2 separate regions of the Homo sapiens genome follow, and region 1 is linked to region 2. The links are contacts of gene promoters, found by promoter capture Hi-C in human tissues and cell types (Jung and others, 2019). All regions are on one chromosome and are shown on one strand. Each heading gives the region's core, a stretch centred on a gene start or on the middle of the fragment in contact. The rest is flanking DNA. Distances are from core to core; before and after follow the strand shown. Region 1 overlaps BTBD9 (BTB domain containing 9). Region 2 holds the start of CCDC167 (coiled-coil domain containing 167).

Region 1 (5,594 bases), core at 3,026-5,525, 1.0 Mb before region 2:
CTGCTTAGAAATTTCTTCCTCCAGAAGAAATCATCTCCCTCAAGTTCAAAGTTCAACAGATTCCTAAAGCAGGAGCACAGTGCTGCCAGTCTCTTTGCTAAAGCATAGCAAGAGTGACCTTTACTCCATTTCCCAGTAAGTTCCTCATCTCCATCTGAGACCACCTCAGCCTGTACTTTATTGTCCATATCACTATCAGCATTTTGGTCAAAACCATTCAACAAGTCTCTAGGAAGTTCCAAACTTCATCTTCCTGTCTTCTTCTGAGCCCTCCAAATTGTTCCAGTCTCTGCCTGTTACCCAGTTCCAAAGTGGCTTCCACATTCTCTGTATCTTTATAGCAGTACACCACTACCTTGGTACCAATTAACTGTTTTAGTCCATTTTCACACTGCTATAAAGATACTACCTGAGACCGGGTAATTTTTACAGGACAGAGGTTTAATTGACTCATAGATCCACATGGCTGGGGAGGCCTCAGGAAACTTACAATCATGGCAGAAGGGGAAGCAGGCACCTTCTTTACAAGGTTGCAGGAGAGAGAGCGAGCAAGAGCAGGGAAAACTGATTATAAAACCATCAGATCTCGTGAGAACTCACTCACTGTCATGAGAACAGTGTAGGGGAAACTACCCCTGTGATCCAACTAACTTTCTCCCTCGACACATGGGGATTACAATTCAAGATGAGGTTTGGGTGGGGACACAGCCAAACCATATCAGTGCTGATCGTGCCATCATGATATCCCCCATGTGACAAAATATTAAAATAATAAACCATTCTAGTGCCTATGTCAGTCTTAAATAAATTTTACTAAGGGTGAGTCATCTCAAAGGGCCTGATCACCCAGACACTAACCAGCTAGTCAGTTTTGCTGGCCTTCCTTTGTTTGACACTACCAGCTACTCCAGATACAGAGAGATAAAGAGAGGAAGGAAGGACAAAAGGAAGGAATGAATTATTCTGATCTCTGTTGACTCCTTTATTGTGAGTCTTGAAAAACTTAGCTAGAGGGCAGAGTTCAAAACTCTTTGTGGGTTAATTTTATAATGTTTATCAAGCAAGGGTGGCTTCAAGAAGTGACTGAATTTGTTACTTAAATATTGCCAAAATGAATATCAGCTATGGCAAAACTAAAACCAGTTTCAGTTTCTAAATGGATAGAACTAAATAACCCTATGTTATTTAGTCATTGTGTACATTTTTCAGAAGACTCATAATGTTGGACTTACTGGACTACAGTTCTGCATTAAAATCATGTTCTATAAGGGACAACTTAGATAATTTTGTGGTCAAGGTAGCTCATTCATTTGTTAAATAAACATTGATTTAATTCTTGCTACGTGCTTACTGTTCTAATACTAATCCATTTCTCTACTTTCAGGCAAGACTACTCAGTTTTTTTCTGGGATTTTTTTAACTTCTTATGAATTCTAAGGAGAAGAAAAATTTTTCAGTATGTCTTACATTTCATAATATGTAATAATTAGTTTTTTCCTGATACTGTTCTATCATTTGGAAATGGAAACTCAGCTAAAAACCACTTTCCTTTAATTAAACCTTTTGTATACTTAAAAATTGTTTGAAGTCACCTCTCAGATTTTAAAATCTTGGCTAGTTACTCTTATTTCTGTCACTTTCTTATATTTTATATTTAATTTATAAATTAATATTTATTGATAGTGATTAGTAATTGCGGAGAAATCAAAATAATTAAAAGTTCACCCTCTGCTGTCTAAGAAATTTCTCTAATTGGGGAGAAAAGACATAAGTATGTCCTGTAACCTAATAATTGAAGAGATATCTCAAAGCAGCTTATTGACAAATGAATAGTGTAGTCAGAAATACCAAAGGATTCCACATAGGCAGCAGAACACAGTGGTTTAAGAGCACAGACTTTGGAGCCACACTGCCTGGGTGTGAACCGTGAATCTGCCATTCATTAGCAATATGTCTGAGCAGTTGTTTAGCTTTTCTGTGCCTCTGTTTCCCCATCTGTTAAATATAGATAATAACAGTACCTGACTTAGAGCATTATTGTGAGATTTAAATAAAGTTAGCTACTATCTATAAAGTGCCTGCTAATGATACAGTGCCTGCTAATGATAATGAAAAAAATACTGTAGGCTAAAATGTTGTTGGAAGAACTTATGGTGGGATTAAGCAGATATTTGAAGGGCAGATAGCATTTGGATAATCTTAGAGGAGGGGAGAGACCTGTTCATGCAAGACAGGGAGACTACAAGGTGTGTAGAGGGCACTGAGTGGATTGGTTTGGTTGGGACAGAGCTCTCTGAAACAGGAGGGTTTGAAGGCAGGGCACAAGGGTAGTAGGCTTTGGCCCAACTCTCAGAGACTTCCAAACTTCTGAAAGTCCAAACTGTCTGGAGTTTGGATTTGATCTTTGTAAGTGTTATAGTACAAGCAATATTTTAATTTTAATATAAAATAGATTGCTAGATTGGTGGAGACGGTTGGTGAGTGGTGGCAGGGTGACCAGTTAGGATGTTATAGCACAGGGCTAGACTGGGGTAGTACAGTAAAAATGGAGAAGAAGAGGTGTCTGCAAGAGGTGTCATCATGGAAAATTCAAAGGATTTTGCCTGCCTCTATTTTTTTTAATGAGACGAAGTCCTGCTCTGTCACCCAGGCTGGAGTACAGTGGAGCGATCTCAACTCACAGCAACCTCCATCTTCTGGGTTCAGGTGATTCTCCTTCCTCAGCCTCCTGAGTAGCTGGGATTACAGGCACGTGCCACCACGCCTGGCTAATTTTTGTATTTTTAGTAGAGATGGTGTTTCACCATGTTGGCCAGGTTGGTCTCAAACTCCTGACCTCAGGTGATCCACCCGCCTCAGCTTCCCAAAGTGCTGGGATTACAGGCATGAACCACTGTGCCCAGCCCTGACTCTTTTTTTGAGCAGATTTCTCCTGCCTAGTATGCAGTCTCCCCACACTTGGTATCTTTCACTACAGAGGGAAAACTAGAATAGGGAGCTGTCTGTGGGTGGAATATCAGACTTTTCAGACATCGTTAGATTGAAAGGCCAATTGGAAATCCCTGACTGGTAGTTGGAAATGGATGGCTGAAACTCAAGAAGAAGGACTGATACTGAGAAGTCAGAACTGGAGTTAGATATATGGTCACCTCCTTAGAGCTAATATTTGAAGCCATGGGAAGCATCAAGATCTCCAAGAGAGGCAATGGGAAGAGCTGGGCTTATTTGTTGAAGAACATCTGGTTTGAAAGAATGTGGCAAAGCAGCCAAAGAACTGGGAGAAGACCCAGACGGACGTCAAAGAAGCATTTGCAAACAGAGCACATAGTCAGTGATGTCAGAGGCTGCAGAACAAACAGAATGAGCCTAAAATAGTTATTGAATCTGGCAATAAGAAGGCCATTAGTAATCTTATTAAGTGAAGTTTCAGTAGAGTATAGGGACTTTAATTTGAGAAGTATAAATGTGAAAGGAAGAAGAAATATAGAATAGCTCTAGTAGGTTCAAATTGTTGGTTTTTTGTTTTTTTGTTTTTTCTCAAAAAATGGCATATGTGTACATTTTCAGCCAGAGAGAGAAAAGCCAGTAGAGAACAAAGCCTTAGCAGGCACTGTTCTAAGCATTTGAAAGATTAGGGAGAGGGAGATGGAATGAACTGGCAAGGAGCTGGAGCAGATGGGAAGGATAAGACGGAGCCTGCGAGCTTAGCTTCAGAAAGGAGGAGGCCCACACTCGGGCAGTGGGATGTTGTCTTGTGCCTAGGACAGGGCATGACTGAAAAGAGGGAATAGGCTAGGTGTAAAAACTGATAACTTAGAAGTAGAGAGGAGGGGCTGGGTGTGGTAGCTCACACCTCTAACCCTAGCGCTTTGGGAGGCTGAGGCGGGTGGATCACCTGGGGTCAAGAGTTGGAGACCAGGCTGGCCAACATGGTGAAACCTGGTCTCTACTAAAAATACAAAAGTTAGCCAAGCATGGTGGCAGGCGCCTATAATCCCAGCTACTTGGAAGGCTGAGGCAGGAGAATTGCTTAAACGCAGGAGGCAGAGGTTGCAGTGAGCCAAGATCGTGCCATTGCACTCCAGCCTGGGTGACAAGAGCAAAACTCCATTTAAAAAAAAAAGAAGTAGTGAGGAGGTAGAAATGAGTGAATTCATAGTGCCTGAGGAGTTAAATTGTGTTACAGGTAAGCCTCCCACATCTGAAAATCTGAAATCTGAATGCTTCCTAATCTGAAACTTTTTGATGCTCAAAGGAAATTCTCAATGGAGCATTTGAGATTTCAGAATTTTAAATTTGGGATGTTCAACCAGTAAGTATAATGCAGATATTCTGAAATCTGAAAAAATCTGAAATGTGAATCACCTCTGGTCTGAAGCATTTCATATAAGGATACTCAACCTGTATTAAAGTAGAAAAGCTGCTAATAAGAATGGTAACAATGATGGTTAACATCTCCTGTGCTTCAAGCACTGTTTTAAATGTTTATATATATTATTTCATTTATTTCTTAAACTTGTAATAGTAAGGTACTATTTCCACATTTTGTAGATGGAGAAATTAAGGTAAAAAAGATTAACTGATTTTCCCTAAACCATACATTCAATAAAGGGCAGAGTGGCGATTTGAACTGAGGTGGTGTGACTTTACAGGTCATATCTTTTTTTTTTTTTAATTATTTTCAGTTTTTGTGGGTACACAGTGTGTGTAAGGTCACGATCTTAACTGTTGGGCTCCTGTGTCCCTGGCCCTGGGAAATGAATGGCAGATTTAAGACACATATGAATATTTAGATCATTTATGGTGGGAATGGTGCCTAGGAAGCAACCCATATCTTTTTTCTTTTTTTCTTTTTGTCTGAGACAAGGTCTCACTCTGTCAAGCAGGCTGGAGTGCAGTGACACAATTATAGCTCACTGTGGCCTCTTTCTACTGAGCTCAAGCAATTCTCCCATCTCAGCTTCCCAAGTAGCTGGGACTACAAGCATGCGCCACCAGGCCTGGCTTTTTTTTAAATTTTTTATTTTTAATATTTAGTAGAGATGTGGTCTCTCTGTGTTGCCCAGGCTGGTCTCGAACTCTTGAGCTAAAGCGCTCCTCCCACCTCAGCCTTACAAAGTGCTGGGATTACAGGCATGAGCCACCATGCCTGGCCTTTTAAATATTTAATGGCAGTAAATTAATTTTTTAAAACTAACTTCCTTTTTGGTTATTCTACAAGTAATATATGGTTATTGAAGAAAACTTAGTAAGTAAAGTATAAATTTTAACAAAATCATCCTAAACCCAGAGATAACCAAAGTTGACAATTTTGTGTATTTTTTGTTTGTTTGTTTTTTTGTTTTGAGATGGAGTCTTGCTCTGTCTCCCAGGATGGAGTGCAGTGGTGTGATCTCGGCTCACTGCAACCTCTGCCTCTCGGGTTCAAGTGATTATCCTGCCTCAGCCTCCTGAGTAGCTGGGACGACAGATGCGTGTCACCACACCCAGCTAATTTTATTTCATTTTATTTTTAGTAGAAATGGGGTTTTGCCATGTTGGCCAGGCTGGTCTGGAATTCCTGACCTCAGGTTATCTACCCACCTCAGCCTCCC
Region 2 (6,414 bases), core at 3,877-6,376:
GATACAGTAGTCATAGGATAAGAGAATATCAGCATGCCAGGAAAGGCCACAGAGCTTAGCTCAGCACCAATGTCTGGTAGAAATTTCTTCTCATCAAGAGGATACCGCAGGGTGGGCCAGACTCGATGGTTCATGCCTGTAATCCCAGTACTTTGGGAGACCGAGGCAGGCAGATCATCTGAGGTCTGGAGTTCGAGACCGGCCTGGCCAACATGGTGAAACCCCGTCTCTACTAAAAATACAAAAATTAGCCAGGCGTGGTGGTGGGTGCCTGTAATCCCAGCTACTCGAGAGGCTGAAGCAGGAGAATCACTGGAACCCAGGAGGCGGAGGTTGCAGTAAGCTGAGATTGCACCAATGCACTCCAGCCTGGGTGACAGAGTGAGACAGAAAAAAAAAAAAAAAAAAAAAAGATGCTGCAGGGTGGAGTGGTCTGCATATTCAACAATATATAGAGATCCTTTGGTTTTCATGTCACTGGCTGTCTAATTCAGTTTCATGTGGATTCACTGTCTACAATTTGATTTACGTTAACTAAAAACTGGATACCAACTAAATAGCAAGCACATTCTTTTCCCCTTCCTTCCTTCCTTTTCTTTCTTTTTGCATGGTAACATGAGGTTGGGTGCAAGGAGTGGTATGTGAGTTTTCCCCAGTGAAATATATGGACAAAAAAGTTCTAGCATCTTGGCTTAGCTGAAATGTATAAAACTCACTAAGACATAAAACTGTTCCAAGCAGGCCATAAAGGCGCTGCTGCCTTTGCCTCAGAACTTGGGCTATAATCTGCTGTCCTGGAACAAAATGCAAACATAAATCAGCTTTCACAGTATTTTTAGCCACCTAAAAAATTCTTCATTTCCTGCCTGAAATGCTTCTGACAGTGAGCAATGCCACTCTCCCTCATTCTTGCTCTGAAAAGCTTCCCTTTGGGCAGCGATGGGGACCCAACACTGGGCCCCACAGCTGAGGCAAACCCAGAAGGAGGCATGGGATAGAGGAAATGGTCTCCCAGGGTCTCTAGGACAAATAAGTCAGGGATGTGGCTAGCGTATAAATTGCTTTCATGCAAAGTTGGAAAGGGCGCCCCTCCTTGGCACAGGAAGCCCTGTGGGTTCCCACTTGGGATGCCCTCTCCTGCATCTTTGCCTGACGCAATCTCATCTGTCCTCCTGGACCCAGAGCCTCCACAAAGCCATCCCCAAATACCCACCCCATTCTCTTGTTTCTGCACTCCTAATGCATCAACAGTGAGTACCAGACAGCTGGCATTTAATTATATGATGTCTGGCATGCACTATTTCATGTTGTCAGTCTGTCTCTCTAACTAGATTAAAGAGATCTTGAGGTAATCGTTAGTTCTTACTTTATATGTCTCCCTTACAGCTAACAAGGAAGCTTTATGTCTTCCTCGTTATGTCTTACAAATAACAAGGTCATGAAAAACAGGAACCTAGGGTGACTGTCTCGTTCTCCCCACTGTACCCATTGAGCAGACAAAATTAAGAGCCAAAGAGGAGGCTTGACCTGCCCAAGGTCATGCAGTGAGAACTTGGGCTAGCCAGGAACGACTCCAGTTCTCCTGTCTGTCAATGCAGCATTCGACTTTCCTGAAACACTTAGTTCTAAAACCCCCAATAGGAGGTTCAGAACCACAGCTCCCTGGGGTAATAAAGACAGACAGACAGACAGCTGGCCCACAGTAATCCATCTGCTCATGGGCAGAATTTCCAACATGGAGGCAAGTCAAGCTGCTCTAAGGCTCAGCAAACAGCCTCCATGGGAATCCAGGCTGGGTCTCTGTATGTGCCAGGGGGATGAAAGGACCTCAGTGGGGTACCTGGGGTGCTTGCATCCTCCCTGACACCACGCAGGTCACTATTGTCTGCGATGTCTGGGGCAAAGGAAACCCGTAATTGATGGTCTCAGCAGGAAGGACACATAGACAGGTGGAGAGGGCATCTCCTGTTTACAGAGAAACGCTTGTGTTTGCAAGGGGCTGCCTTTTTGCAGTGAACTATGCACCCATGATAGCAGGAAACCACCCAAGTATTTGCCCCAAATTTATAACAACAGATACAATAGTGTCAAAGCTGATAGAAACTGAAAACAAAATAATAACAAAAAATACCCATGGCAACAATTGCTAAACAAAACCCTATAACGACAAGCTGGCAGCAGCCTCATCAGTCCTGCTGAGCCTCTCCTAGGCACTCACAAGCCACAGCACCCGCCACTTAGTACTTCTCACAAATGCCCTATGAGTTTGGTATGATGTGCTTGTTTTATAGATGTGGAAGCTGAAGCTTACGGGGCTGAAGTATCTTGCCTCACATCACAGGCTGCTAAGAAGCAGAGCTGGGATTGGCATCCAGGTTGATCTCCCTCTAAAAGCCTCCCCTTTCACTACAACCCACATAGACTCTCATTCCAACCCCACTTCAAGCATTTCTTCCCATTATCAGACCTGTGGGACAAGGTTTGGTTGGGAAAACACGAGGCTCTTCAGGAAGACAGACAACAGATTGCCCATCATTTCATGGACAAGGGACCGACATGAGGCGCACCCAGATCTCTGTGGCTTTTTCTTGGTGCCAAACAAATGCAGAAGGAGTCACTTCTCAAAGAACACAGTGTTTTTCTTCCTCTTCTCACCTCTCCTGGGCCGGTGCCTGTGATAATTGGGAAGCACAGAGTCTGGTTTTTCCGGGATTGGAACCAATGCTGTGAAGAGTGTTCTGACAATAAATGTTGATTGACAGTTGATGGACAATGTTCTTGAATCAGTTTTTCCTGTGCTGGGTGTTAAGCTGAGAACTGCACTAAACAACTGCTCAACAACCTGCTTCCTGTTCAGATAGAATTTACTACACTCTCTCTCTGTGGGCCTCAGTCAGGCAGCCAGGCGAGATGGTATCTCAGACGCCTTCCAGCTCCATCACTCAATGTCTCTATCAAGAAGAGAACACAGATCTGAAAACATTTTTCCCCCTAACACTGAGTTGGGGTTATTATTCACATACAAAAACACAGGCACCAACAGAGATAACTGGTCAGGAAATAAGGAGCTTTGATTCTGGTCTCATACTCTTTGACCTAGTAATTCTACTTCTGTGAATTTATCTTAAAGAAAGAATCCAGAGGACAGAGCTGTGTGCACGAAAAGGTTTGCTTTCGCAATATTTGGAGTTACTGTCAATAAAATGATGTCCAATGCAAGAATGCGAGAGACTCCCTTGGTGGCACATGAGGCCACCGCAAGTGATAATTTCAAAGACACAGAAAAACATACTTGGCAGTGTTTTTCAAATTGCAGTTCAACCTCCATTAAGGGGTCATGAAATAAACCTAAGAGGTGTCCTGCCACCAACTTGTTTTTGTTTATTTTTTTGAGATGGAGTTTCGCTCTTTCACCCATGCTGGAGTGCAGTGGCACGATCTCGGCTCACTGCAACCTCCGCCTTCCAGTTTCAAGTGTTTCTCCTGCTTCAGCCTCCCGAGTAGTTGGGTTTACAGGCGCCCACCACCACGCCCAGCTAATTTTTGTATTTTTAGTAGAGACGGGCTTTCACCACGTTGGCCAGGCTGGTCTCAAATTACTGACCTCGTGATCTGCCCAGCCTCCCAAAGTGCTGGGATTGAGAGGTAAAGCCAGCTGGACTTCCTGGGTTGAGTGGGGACTTGGAGAACTTTTCTGTCTAGCTAGACAATTGTAAACGCACCAATCAGCGTTCTGTGTCTAGCTAAAGGATTGTAAATGCGCCAATCAGCACTCTGTAAAAACCCACCAATCAGCGCTCTGTGTCTAGCTAAAGGATTATAATGCACCAATAAGCACTCTGTGTCTACCTAGGGATTGTAAATGCACCAGTCAGTGCTCTGTAAAAACGCACCAATCAGCGCTCTGTGTCTAGCTAAAGGATTGTAAATGCACCAATCTGCACTCTGTAAAAATGCACCAATCAGCACTCTGTGTCTAGCTAAAGGACTGTAAATGCACCAATCAGCACTCTGTAAAATGGACCAGTCAGTGCTCTGTAACAGGGGACAAATAAGGGAATAAAAGCTGGCCATCCCCCAGTCAACAGTGGCAACCCACTCAGGTCCCCTTCCATGATGTGGGAGCTTTGTTCTTTTGCTCTTCACAATAAATCCTGCTGCTGCTCACTCTCTGGGTCCGTGCTACCTTTAAGAGCTGTAACACTCACCGTGAAGTCAGTGAGACCAAGAACCCACCTGAAGGAACCAACTCCAGACACAGGATTACAGGCCTGAGCCACCGTGCCCGACTTTGTTTTTTTTTAATTAAATAGGCAAGAATACAAAATAACAGAGTGCATTACAGGAGGTAAAGGTACTTACTGTGAAACTTTGGTTTTGGTTTCATGGGTAACTGGGCCATGGTATAAAATACATTTTTTTATCGTAGGGTCACAGTCAAAACATTTCAAAGGCCGTGGGTCTATGGTGTACAGTATAGTACGATTACAACAATGTAAAATACTGTGTGTGAGGCCAAGCCTGGGAGGAATAAACAGAAGCAAAGAGGAACTGATAAAGTTGGTAGAATAAAGGATGCTGCTTCTCAGTTATATGTTTTCTGTGATGTTTGTAGGTTGTTCTTACAATAAAACAAACCAAAAAAAAAAAAAAAAAGAAGTCAAGACACAAAGGAGAAATAACAATAGAGGGCCATTATCAGATTCCATTGGCCGAGAAGCTCAAGGCTCCAGCACCGGCCTTGAAGGATGGACAGACTTTGAATGGGGGGCGTGGCCTAAACAGGGACGGGGTTGTTGCTGAAACACAAAACACACTGAAAGAGAACATGGGGTTAAAAAAGGCTCTCAGTGATGCAAAGCGGCTTAAAACTGGGGAAGAAAGGGGCAGGTCTACTCCCGGGCTGTACATTCTGCCTCCCTGTACCGACTTTTCCACCCTCCACCCATCTAGGCTGAGGTCTCAAGCTAGAGGTTGCCCCTCATAAACATGTCCGCACCAAGCCGGCCGCGCCCCTCAACAAGATGGCGACGGCAGCAGCCCCACCTCCCGCTGACTCGGTGGCCAATGAGGGAGAAGCACGAAGACTTGAGCATGCGCACATAGCGACTTGGTGGGCGCGTCCAGTGATGACTGGGGGATCCCGGCAAGTAACATGACTAAAAAGAAGCGGGAGAATCTGGGCGTCGCTCTAGAGGTGAGGGGAAAAGTGGGGGTTGGGCCACCTCGTTAGTTGCCTTCTCCTGGCCGCGGGATAAGGGATAGGCTGGGCTATAGATAGGAGGAGGAGCCAAGCGTAGGATGAGAGGGCGACGCGGTTTGGGGAGAGGGACGGGAGGGGTGAGAAGGCCCACGGGGTTCCCGGAGGACAGGGAGCCCGAGGAGGTGCCGGATGGGCGAACCAGACTCTCTGGAGAGGGCATCTCCAGAGAGGAAGAGACATGGAAGTGAAGGGGAGCCCCAAAGACGGCCTGGCATAGAAGTGAGGGAACTCAAAGCGGGGGACACAGAACAAAAGGGATGGGTACAGAGGTGAGGGAGACCCCAGAGAAATAGGGACCTGTAGAATCTAAGGAGAACTCCCAAAGGGCTAGGACTCAAAGATGAGGGAGCCCATTCTGGTGTATATTATTAATGGTTTAAATATCCTCTAAAAGGGGAAATTTTTCCTCCGGAGTATGGAAGCTTGTACCTTCAAAATTACTTTGGGAATATGTAAAGAGAATTCTGGAATTGGTGATGTCACTGAATGGCTTAAAAATAATTTGCTGCATATAGAAGGGAAAGAAAACATACATACTGAGCAACCGCTATGTGCTACTTTCATTGCATTGTTAATCCTCACTGCAAGCCTGTGAGGTTTGTACAGATGAGGAAATTGAGGTTCCAGGTGGAACCCAGGCTGAGATGGTGGAAGTGGTGGAGCCTGGGAATCAAGCACAGGTGGTCTTCCTGGAAATTCATCTTGCTTCCCCTGTTTTCCTTCCCTTAGGGCATCCTCCCGGAGGTTGCAGGAGAGGTACAGGGTCATAGTCTTCTTCAGGCTTACTAGTGAGTTCAGTGATTCTCAAACTTTAGCATGCATAGAGTCACAGGGCTTGTTAAAAATGGAGAGTTGAACTCTTCCCACACCCCGAGTAATTCAGTAGGACTTTGATGTGCATTCTTAACAAGGAATCTGCTTTTTTTTTTTTAAGACAGAGTCTCGCTCTGTTGTCCAGGCTGAAGTGCAGTGGCGTGATCTCGGCTCACTGTAAACTCTGCCTTCTGGGTTCAAGCGATTCTCGTGCCTCAGCCTCCCGAGTAGCTGGGATTACAGGCACGTGCCACCATGCCTGGCTAATTTTTGTATTTTTGTAGAGACGGGGTTTCACCGTGTTGGCCAGGCTGGTCTTGAACTCTTGACCTCAAGTG

The links. Contacts are between HindIII fragments. The study calls those that stand out against the background at their distance.
Region 1: a fragment that was not itself captured here is called in contact with the fragment with the promoter of CCDC167 in region 2 in 1 of the 25 tissues and cell types used here (dorsolateral prefrontal cortex).

Annotation. Positions count from the first base shown.
Region 1 is chr6:38,520,212-38,525,805 of GRCh38, reverse strand. All of the region lies in intron 6 of BTBD9 (BTB domain containing 9), which reads left to right. Among named protein-coding and RNA genes, the nearest start is that of BTBD9-AS1, 41 kb to the right of the region's middle. The HindIII fragment of the contact is 5,406 bases long and covers 1,573-5,594 here.
Region 2 is chr6:37,498,605-37,505,018 of GRCh38, reverse strand. CCDC167 (coiled-coil domain containing 167) reads left to right here and starts at 5,126. Exons shown (of 4, transcript NM_138493.3): 1 at 5,126-5,197. The coding sequence starts at 5,156. RefSeq lists an enhancer at 4,934-5,133. The HindIII fragment of the contact is 4,936 bases long and covers 1,853-6,414 here.